3 separate regions of the Homo sapiens genome follow, and regions 2 and 3 are each linked to region 1. Evidence: promoter capture Hi-C in 16 types of primary human blood cells and fetal thymus (Javierre and others, 2016). All regions are on one chromosome and are shown on one strand. Each heading gives the region's core, a stretch centred on a gene start or on the middle of the fragment in contact. The rest is flanking DNA. Distances are from core to core; before and after follow the strand shown. Region 1 holds the start of LY6D (lymphocyte antigen 6 family member D). Region 2 has its middle 29 kb from the start of LY6H. Region 3 has its middle 11 kb from the start of LY6H.

Region 1 (2,826 bases), core at 6-2,505:
GTGGGCGAGGGCGGTGCGGGTGGGTGCAGCGTTGTGCAGCTTCTCATTGCACAGGTCCTCCTGGCAGCACTGGGTGGAGCTGGTGCCGCTGCTGACCTGGCCTTGCAGGGTGTAGCTGGGTGTGCACGACTCCGCACAGTCCTTCTTCACCAGATTCCCCCTCAGAGGCTCCACTGGGCACAGGTGAGTGTGGTCAGGCCAGGCAGCCACCTCTGCCCCCCACCTCCCCACAACCTTCCAGCCAACACCCACAACAGCCAGGGATGTCCCCCAGCCCCAGGGACACCTGGACAGATGCTACCCACCTGTGTTCGTGGTCTTGCAGAAGCGAGAGCTGGCCGGGCAGACCACAGAATGCTTGCAGTTGCTGGAGCTGGTGCACACGTGGCAGCGCAGGGTAAGGGCTGGCGGGGAGGGAGTCCGGCTCAGCGGGCCCAACAGAGGCCTCCTGGTGACTCAGCAGGGCCTGCTCCCCCACCTGCAGAGACCCCTCCTGGACAGAGGCCCTGCTGCCCTTGCCCTAGGCCCCCAAACCCGGGCTCTGGGTCCTGGCAGGGCATGTGCCCTGAGTGCAGCCTCAGGGGACATGTATTCCAGCCTGGGCCGGCTTGGAAGAGGTGTCCTGCCCTGCCCCTGTCTAGGGTGTGTTGCAAGCCTTTCCTCCAAGGTCTCAGGGAGCTCTGCGACTGCCAAGAGGACACTGGCTCTTGTCCCCACCCCAGGGGATGTCCCTGGAGGAGATGGCTATGTTTCTGAGGGCCTGACGGAGCTAAGGCCCCGGGGGCAGCCAGCTTGGCTGCTCTGAGCCTATGACAGGAAGGGCTTGGTGGCCTTTGGGCTGTCCTGGGCTGTGCTGGGGGAGACCTGGGGACCGGGAGGGGCTGGTGGCAGGGACTAGATGGCCGCTCTCCCAGTGAGAAGCATCTCAAGACAACCCCCTGCTCCACTCTCTCAGGGTCCGTGACTCCAGGAGTCAGTTCTAAGATCCTCAGATTCTGAAACATTGTAAATCTGACACTCGTTAAGATTCGGGCTCCATGTTGTTTTAAATTTGAAGAGTCTAGCACCCACAGTGTCGGGGTTCTCTGTGCCTAGATGTCGTCAGCTCCAGGCTCCTAGTATTTGGTGACCACACAGGCCACAGCCGCCCACCCGCCCGTCCCCTTGGCCCAGCCCCTCACCTGGCCCTGTAGCCACAGCCAGGGCTGCAAGGAGCAGCAATGCTGTCCTCATCTCTGATGTCGTCTGGGAGCAGTGCGGGCCCCTGCATTGCCAAGGCCTTATAGGCACGGGCTGGGCGGGGGTGGGCAGTCCGCCAGCCAGCGGCATTCTGCAGGGCTCTGTGCAAGCGTCAGCCCAGGACGGGCACCTGCCCCACCCTGCCTGGCCCACGCCCACCAGCCTGGCTGTCGCTGGGCGCTGCCCCTGCTGCCCCCCGCCAGGCAGAGGTCTGCCCTCCGCAACGGGGCCCAGTGGCCTCCTGGCCCTGCTGTTCCTGCTGCTGTGCCTCCATCTCTCCCACTTTCACTTCTCTGTCTCTGTGGGTCTTGTTCTCTCGCTGCCGTCCGTTCCTGGGTCACTTTGTCTCTGACCTGCCACCCGCTACCCCCCGCCCCCCACCCCCCACCATCCATCACCATCCTGTGTCTTTGTCCCTGCATTCCCCCCATAGTTCCCTCAATAGAGTTGCAGCCTGTGCCCGGTGCCCTGTGGGTGCCCGTGGGTGTCCAGGGCAGGGGAGGTAGGAAGGGCAGGTGCTGGTCCTACTCTCCTGGCTCTGGGCTCAGGGTTGCTGCCGGGGATGCAGAAGGTCCTTGAGCTGCAAGGGCTCGGGGTGGCTGTGGGCTGATGGGGTGTGTGAGGCAGAGGCAGAGGCAGAGGCCACTCCGAGGCAGGGAGGGCAGCTGGGGCAGCAGTGAGGTGAGCACTGGACAGAGTGAGGACTGTGAGGACCCGGCCCTCGAAGTTGCCTGGGGAGCCCTGTGGGCAGAAGGCCCGGGCTGTGGAGGCAGCAACTCCACCCTGCGTTGTGCAGGGAGAGACTGAGCCCTCCTGGTCTCCACCAGCCCTGCCTCCCGCCCTCCAGGGCCCCAGAAGCCCTCCCCGTGGGATTCCTTCCCCCACTCTCCAGGCCCCTCCTGCTACGTTGGGGGCAGCGCCATCCCGGCCACTTTGTAACTATTGCTCTAGGTGTCCCGGCTCCAGTCTCCCCAAAATCGTGAACTCTTTGGGGCTGGGCCCCAGCACCCAGGGCCTCAAAGCAGGTTCTTGGTCTGCTGCCCGTTGAGTGGAGGCCAGTCCCCGCCTTCACCCTCTTTATACTCACAGGAGGGACTTTCTTTCCCTGGAGACGGGGTCTCTGAGCACCCACCGCCTCGCGCAGGAGCCCACCTCTTGGGGCCCCCATCCACCTGCTCAGCCCAGCACGCTCTGCCGCTCGCCTGTGCTGGGCAGCACCCACCTGAGTGGTGTGGAGGGGCCCACAGACTTGCTTTGCCCCTGCCCTGGCTAGGCTGAAGGTGAGTGGGAGCCGGGGCACAGATGGAGGTCAGCCCTGGGCCCAGCCTCCTGCCGCCGCTGCCACGTGGCTGATGAACAGACAACAACAGGCCCAGGGCAGGGCAGGGCCGGTTCCGAGGAGGGTGGTCCTGGGCTGGGCTGAGGCTTTTGGGAGCACCGTGGGTACTGGGGCCAGTCAGGCCTGGGCTTGAGACAGACCCTCTGGCCCTTCCTCCCGGCATCTCTCCCTTGCTGAGCCCCACGTCTCAGATGCCGGGGATCCCAGCAAATGTCTCCTGAGAATGCTCCTGGCCGGGCTCTCCCTGA
Region 2 (2,854 bases), core at 51-2,550, 340 kb after region 1:
CTCTATTCTGGACTTGGCTTATTTGTAACAGAAGCAACCTTGGGAACAGCATGAGGTGTTTAGAATGGTGAGTCCTCTGTCAATTTCAGCCGACTTGGACCTACTTCTTCTGATCCAGGTACCCACTCTTGCTGGCACCAGGACACTGAGACGGTCCAGGAAACACGGCAAGCATACGTGTGCACCACACTGCTCGTCCCGTCCAGCTGTGGCCATGCTGAAAATTGCAATGGGCCACTGGAAGACAGGTTATTCAGGCAGGTGTGAGAAACGTGACCAGTTGGTGGAGTCGCTTAACTGGGGTGTCTTCAGACTGAGCCTGAGGGGAAGGCAGGCAGGCCGCTCACAGGCTTCAGGGCTGGGGGAAGGAGGAGGGCGTGTGGGGGGTGCAATTGGACCCTCTGTACCTTCCCCACCTCCCAAAGGTTTCTCTTCTTCTGCCTGAGCCAGTGGTCCCAGGACCCCATGCCCAAGCACTAAAGTGGGCGGCACAGGCTCCAGAAGGGACATTAGACTGGTCATGACTGGACCCCATGGCGGGACTTCCTGCAAATGTGGCCAGCAGGAGGGCTGCCCCGTGGCTCCTCACCGGCGAGTCCTGTGGCAGCAGCAGGCCGAGACACAGCACCACAGGGCTGTGCCGGGTGCCTGCTCGAAGGCAGAGCTGCAGTGGGGGATCCAACAGGAACCGTGGAAATGGGGGGCTCCTGCAGGCAGGGGGATACCCACAGGGTCCCGTGATCCTGCAGGGGTGCAAGTGGCTCCTTCCGTGATGGCCCTAGAGCAAGAGGGTAATACTCTTGCCACCTCTCCCAGACCTGGGGCCAAGTAAAGGCTGATGATAAAGAAGCCAGAGGTGCTTTTCCCAGAGATGGGAATCGGATTCCTGCTGACTTCACCTGAGTAATTCAGAGCACGAGGGAAGCTGCACCTCCAGGGGCGCTCCTGACAGGTAACCCACTGGAGCTGCTATTCCGCAGCAGAGGCACCAGCCAGAAAGATCCGAAAGAAACATTTTCAAAAGTGGACCAAGATGGCTGCAGTTTGGCCACACGGGTAGTAGGAGGCAGGCCTGGCCTATGAGGCTGGAATCTGCATTGTCTCACTGACGTGTCCTGGTCACTGCCGTGCCTGTCAGATGAGGCAGGACAGAACAGTCGCCCCTGCAGACCCTGAGGCTCCAGTAGGTGCCAGCTTTCCACCCTGTGTGCCAGCCACGTGTCCACTCCACCTGTGTACAAGGCACCGAGGCCAGGCAGGACTGCGAGGTCCCCCTGAGCGCACTGCCCCTCTCAGGCTGTGGAACCACCCCTCCTGCCTCCTCAGCCGATGGAACCTGTGTTCCGGGTTGCCACTCACTCTTGGCTCAGCATAAAACGCACTTTGGCTTCTCTAAGTCTGCAGTGCCCATGAGTGCGGCCTCCAGCCGTCGCTGCCGTCTGCCCCTCTCGGAGGACAGATGAGAACAGTGCAGGGATCCCAGGGTGGGGAATGCCCAGGAGCCTGGCCTCCACTCTGGGGTGACCCCGGACCTGCCAGGCGCTGCCTGCATGTGGAGGGGGCATTGCTGCCTCCTCCCTGCCTCAGAGCTTGATCTGCGAGTCCGAACGTGCCAAGTGTGAACCAGCCCCAGCGATCTCCAGGCAGAAACAGATGCATTGGTCTCATGAGGGTTGGCCCCACCCTGCTGAAGGTTTGGGGAGATTTTAGAATTTGGTCTTGGGGCCCTGAGTGCGGCAGAAACAGTGTCCCTGCACGCTCATCATGAAGAGCAGGAGGCTTGTTATCCTGAGTAGGGACAGCAGAGGGCGACCTCTTCCAGGATCCAGACACAGGCCCGGGAGGCTGTAAAGGCCACTCATACGGGAATCGATGGAAATCGGACACCCGTCCCCAGCCCTGGGCCAGTGTGCATCCTTCCTCACCCAGGAGGGGCTACTGAACACTCTCATCCCTGGCATCTGATGCTGTAGAGGTCAGAGGCCAGGTCGGGGCCGGGCAGTAGCCTGAGTCCTGAGGGAGCAGTGCTGACAACGGCCCCTCAACCCATCGCTGTTCTCCCGCAGCCTGAGTGCCACCAATGTAAAAGGACAGCTGTGTGGGCCGCATGTGCCCGGAATGAGGCCCCCTGCTCCCTCAGCCGCGTTCTCATGGGTGAACAAAGACCGTGATGGAACCCACCTGAGCCCCTGAGCCGGCTGGACTGGATTATCCTCCCTATGCGTGGATAATCAGAGCCGGGATTATTCCCCTTAAATATTCCTCTTCCCACTGGCAGTTCTGATTCTCTTTGGACAACTGTTAGGAAACTGAAAAACCTAACAGTGTGTCCTCCTTTCCTGGCCAAGGAAGAAACCACCGTTTAGCTTCTTCATGCCCCAGCCAAAGAGCAGGCGATGGAGGCCCAGAAAACCAACCCCACGCTGTCTGACACAGCTCTCGAGACCCGGTCATCTAAGGCAGCTGTTTGCAAGGCTCTCCTGGGCTGCACCTGCCACCACTTCTCACAACCCACCTTAGCTCCAGTCTGCAGAGCCCCTGCGAAGGCTGAGTTAGAGAACGCTGAGCCCCTGCTGCTAGCAGACACACAGGGTTAGGGTCCCGCAAGCCTCTGGCTCCGTTTTCATCAGCCGATCAATATATCATCTCATTCTCTGTGTTTCTATTTAAAGATCCCTTACTGAATGCACGTGGTGGCTTCATTAACATTGCAATCGGTGCCAAGCACCGTAAGCCTGGACAAAGCTTCTCTGACCCAGGCATTCCTTGCCTAGGACGTGAGGCAGCACCTCGGGACAATGCTTGGGGACATTGCAAACAGCAAAGTCACCCACAAAAAGCACAAAAATGCAAA
Region 3 (3,152 bases), core at 117-2,616, 360 kb after region 1:
GGGAGGGAAGGCCAGGGTCAGTGGCCTGGGGAGGAAGAGTGCGAACCCAGCCCCAGCACCCACAGCCAAGCCACGCTGCTCCGAGCACCGCCATGGGCCAGGGAAGTCTGGGACCTGGCCTCACCGCTGCCTCAAAACCCTCTCTCACCCACCCAGAGATTTCCCAGCTGGACACTCAGCGGTTTTCCCAGAGCCTCTGGTTCTCCATTGCTGAGCCAGTGATGCATGGCTGCTTCCAGCCAGCCCCCAGTGCCGAGAGAAGGAGCCCCCGTGACATTAGGGGAACTTGAGGACAGTGGTGGGGAGGGCAGAGAGGCTCTGCTCTAGCCGGGGGATTCTGGAGCTTCAGCCAGGAGGGCCACTGTCAGGCGAGGGGCCGGGGGAGGCCCCCAGCCCCAGACTCTCCTGTTCCTTGAGGGCCTGACTCTCAGCCACTCCCACCTTCCAGTTCTCCAGGACGCCCCCACCCCAGTATCCTGCGGTGCCCACCTCAGCCCAGTCAGCATCGGGGGGCCCTGCCCCACCCATAACTCACCTATGCCCTCGCTGGGTGGCCCAGGCCCGCCCTCCCCAGGCCAGGTCCTGGGCCTCCTGGGCGCCTCCATCCACCCCATGCCCGTCAGGCCTCACCTCCTGCATCCCACCAGGACCTCCCAGATGGGCACCCACCCCCATCATGGGCTGCAGACTACAGCTGGCCAGCCTTTCTAGGATCCCAGACCTGAGCCCATAGCTGGGGCTCAAAGGCATTAAGGCCGGCCTGGTCCTCCTGGATTCAAGCTTCTTGGGCCACCAGGTTTTGTTCGTCACTGTCCTCTCTGTCCCCTAATAACGTTCACTGCTAGAAATGACCACCTGACACACCCTCCCACGCTCAGGACCTGGGGCACAGGCCTCGCTGGTAAAAGCCCACATGGGAGGGGAGTGAGCCCCGCAGCTCAGGCATCAAGACTGCAGGGAGCAGCAGGTGCCCCCATCCCAGCTCTGCAGCCCCTGTCTCCCGCTCTGGGCCTCTTGGTTCTGATCTGCTCCTCTCTGCGTGTCTTAGCTGTGCCGAGGGGGCACGGACAGATGCATTTCAAACTCACGTCAGCAAGCATGGACAGGTGCAGAAACCAACACAAGAGAGAATGAGCCACCGGGTGGAGTCAATCAATGAACACATTTAGCCCCCTCCCCTCCAGTTCACCCACACCCACCAGGTGGGGCTAGAGCCTTACAGTGGGAAGGGGCTCACGGGGGCCGGAGCATAAGGGGGGACCGCAGAGCCCAGGAGGAGCAGGGGCCACCGGCCACCCACGTGTGCAGGCCTTCCCTGCCCAGTGAGGGGACAGAAGACCAGGCCTGGGACTCCCGGGCACCCAGGATGGGACAGCACAGGGAGGGCCTCAGAAATGCTCCAGGGCAGAGGGACAGACGCCAGGGAGAGGCGATTCCAGGAACCACCCTCGTGTGCCCTTCTGGGGATGGGAGACGTCCCCTGCACCTGTGAGCTTAGGTCTGAGTCAGCATGTTCTGCATCCCTGCAGGAAACACAGGGAGCAGGGGTGGTGGGCCTGGGACCCCCTGGGGGTGAGGCGTGGTCCACAGGCCCCTAGGCTGCAGGGGCCACAGGTTCCTGCCCTCAGTGGAGGGAGGACTCACTGGAGGCTGGGTGTGGGAAAACAGCACCCCTATGCTGCCCGGCCCTGAATCCCCCAGCCCACAGTGCCAGCACAGCCCCAGCACACACGGGGCCTCGAAGTGCAGGGGTGAGCCCCAGGCCTGGGCACCACGCAGCTTCCAACTGGGTTCCTCCATCGGGCGCTGGGTAATCGCCAGCCCTGCTCCGCCTGAGAAGAAAGCAGGAGAGGTTCCCTTTAAGCATCGGAGGAGGGAAGATTTTTCTATGACTCAAATCCTGAAGCTGTAAGAAATAATGGTAATAGTGTCTCCATAAAAATTCAAGGAAAAGAAGCTTCCATGTGGCAAAAAAAAAGAAAAAAGAAAAAAAAACTCACAAAACACCATAAGCAAAATAAAGGGGGAAATGTGTGTCACTCTTATTATAAATGAAGGGCTTATTTCCCAGCTATGCAGAAAGTTCCCAGAAAAGAGTAAGGAGACCAACCATCCCACAGCAAAGGGACCGAGGTTATGAGCAGAGAGGCCAGAGAAATGGAAACCATCCCCACACACCCCCCAACAAAAGACAAAGAAATCAAAATGCCCAGAACGAGAAGACGGGCATGCACGAACCAATAAGGGGCACGTGCCAGGAGCCAAGGGTGACGGCGCCTCCAGGTCCCCATACCTGTGGTCCAACTTCCAAAATTCAGAACACAGCTGCAATGCCGTCTTTCATTGCTGACCAGACTCACGGAAGTCCAACGGCAACAGAGAAGCTGTGGTCTCAGGCATCGCTACTGGAAGTGTGAAAGTGTGCAGCCCCAGGACAACCATGCTCACTCATCAGTTACAGGCCCAGCAAGACTGACTCTGGAGATGTGTCCCCACACGCAGCAGCTAGCTGACATGTCTGAGGCTATGCATTACAGCCTTGTAACTGGAGCATGAGTGAGACCATCTAAATATGCAGAAACAGGCCAGGCGCGGTGGTTCACGCATGTAATCCCAGCACTTTGGGAGGCCAAGGCCAGCAGATCACTTGAGGTCGGGAGTTGGAGATCAGCCTGACCAACATGGTGAAACCCCATCTCTACTAAAGATACAAAAATTAGCCAGGCATGGTGGCACACACCTGTAATCCCAGCTACTTGGGAGGCTGAGGTACAAGAATCTCTTGAACCCAGGAGGCAGAGGTTGCAATGAGCCAAGATGACACCACTGCACTCCAGCCTGGGCGACAGAGTAAGACTCTGTCTCTAAATAAATAAATAAGCAGACACAGGAGTATGTGTGCTGTGCGATGCTGCTGTTAAGAACGGAGTGGGGAGCTGGCTCTGCGCCATCACAGAAAGATCTCCAGGCTGCACTGAGAGGCAGAAAGAGTAAACGACCTCAGCTGTAAAGGACTTTCTTGTCCTTGTATAAAGACATCCTGAACGGGTACACAGGAAACCGGTCAGATAATGACAGGGCAGGAGACACACTTCTCAAGGTAGACTTCTTTTTTAATTGATGCAAGCGTTCTTACCTGTTTTTTTAAAAGA

Evidence for each region. Contacts are between HindIII fragments. The CHiCAGO score rates a contact against its expected background, and 5 or more counts as called.
Region 2: a contact is called between a fragment that was not itself captured here and the fragment with the promoter of LY6D in region 1, in 1 of 17 cell types (naive CD8 T cells). The highest score is 7.3, in naive CD8 T cells.
Region 3: a contact is called between a fragment that was not itself captured here and the fragment with the promoter of LY6D in region 1, in 1 of 17 cell types (M2 macrophages). The highest score is 5.0, in M2 macrophages.

Annotation. Positions count from the first base shown.
Region 1 is chr8:142,785,284-142,788,109 of GRCh38, forward strand. It overlaps LY6D (lymphocyte antigen 6 family member D), which reads right to left and starts at 1,256. Exons shown (of 3, transcript NM_003695.3): 1 at 1,182-1,256; 2 at 306-404; 3 at 1-173. The coding sequence starts at 1,233. The HindIII fragment of the contact is 15,715 bases long and covers 1-2,826 here.
Region 2 is chr8:143,129,399-143,132,252 of GRCh38, forward strand. No RefSeq gene overlaps it. Among named protein-coding and RNA genes, the nearest start is that of LY6H, 29 kb to the right of the region's middle. The HindIII fragment of the contact is 2,885 bases long and covers 1-2,743 here.
Region 3 is chr8:143,147,739-143,150,890 of GRCh38, forward strand. No RefSeq gene overlaps it. Among named protein-coding and RNA genes, the nearest start is that of LY6H, 11 kb to the right of the region's middle. The HindIII fragment of the contact is 1,177 bases long and covers 779-1,955 here.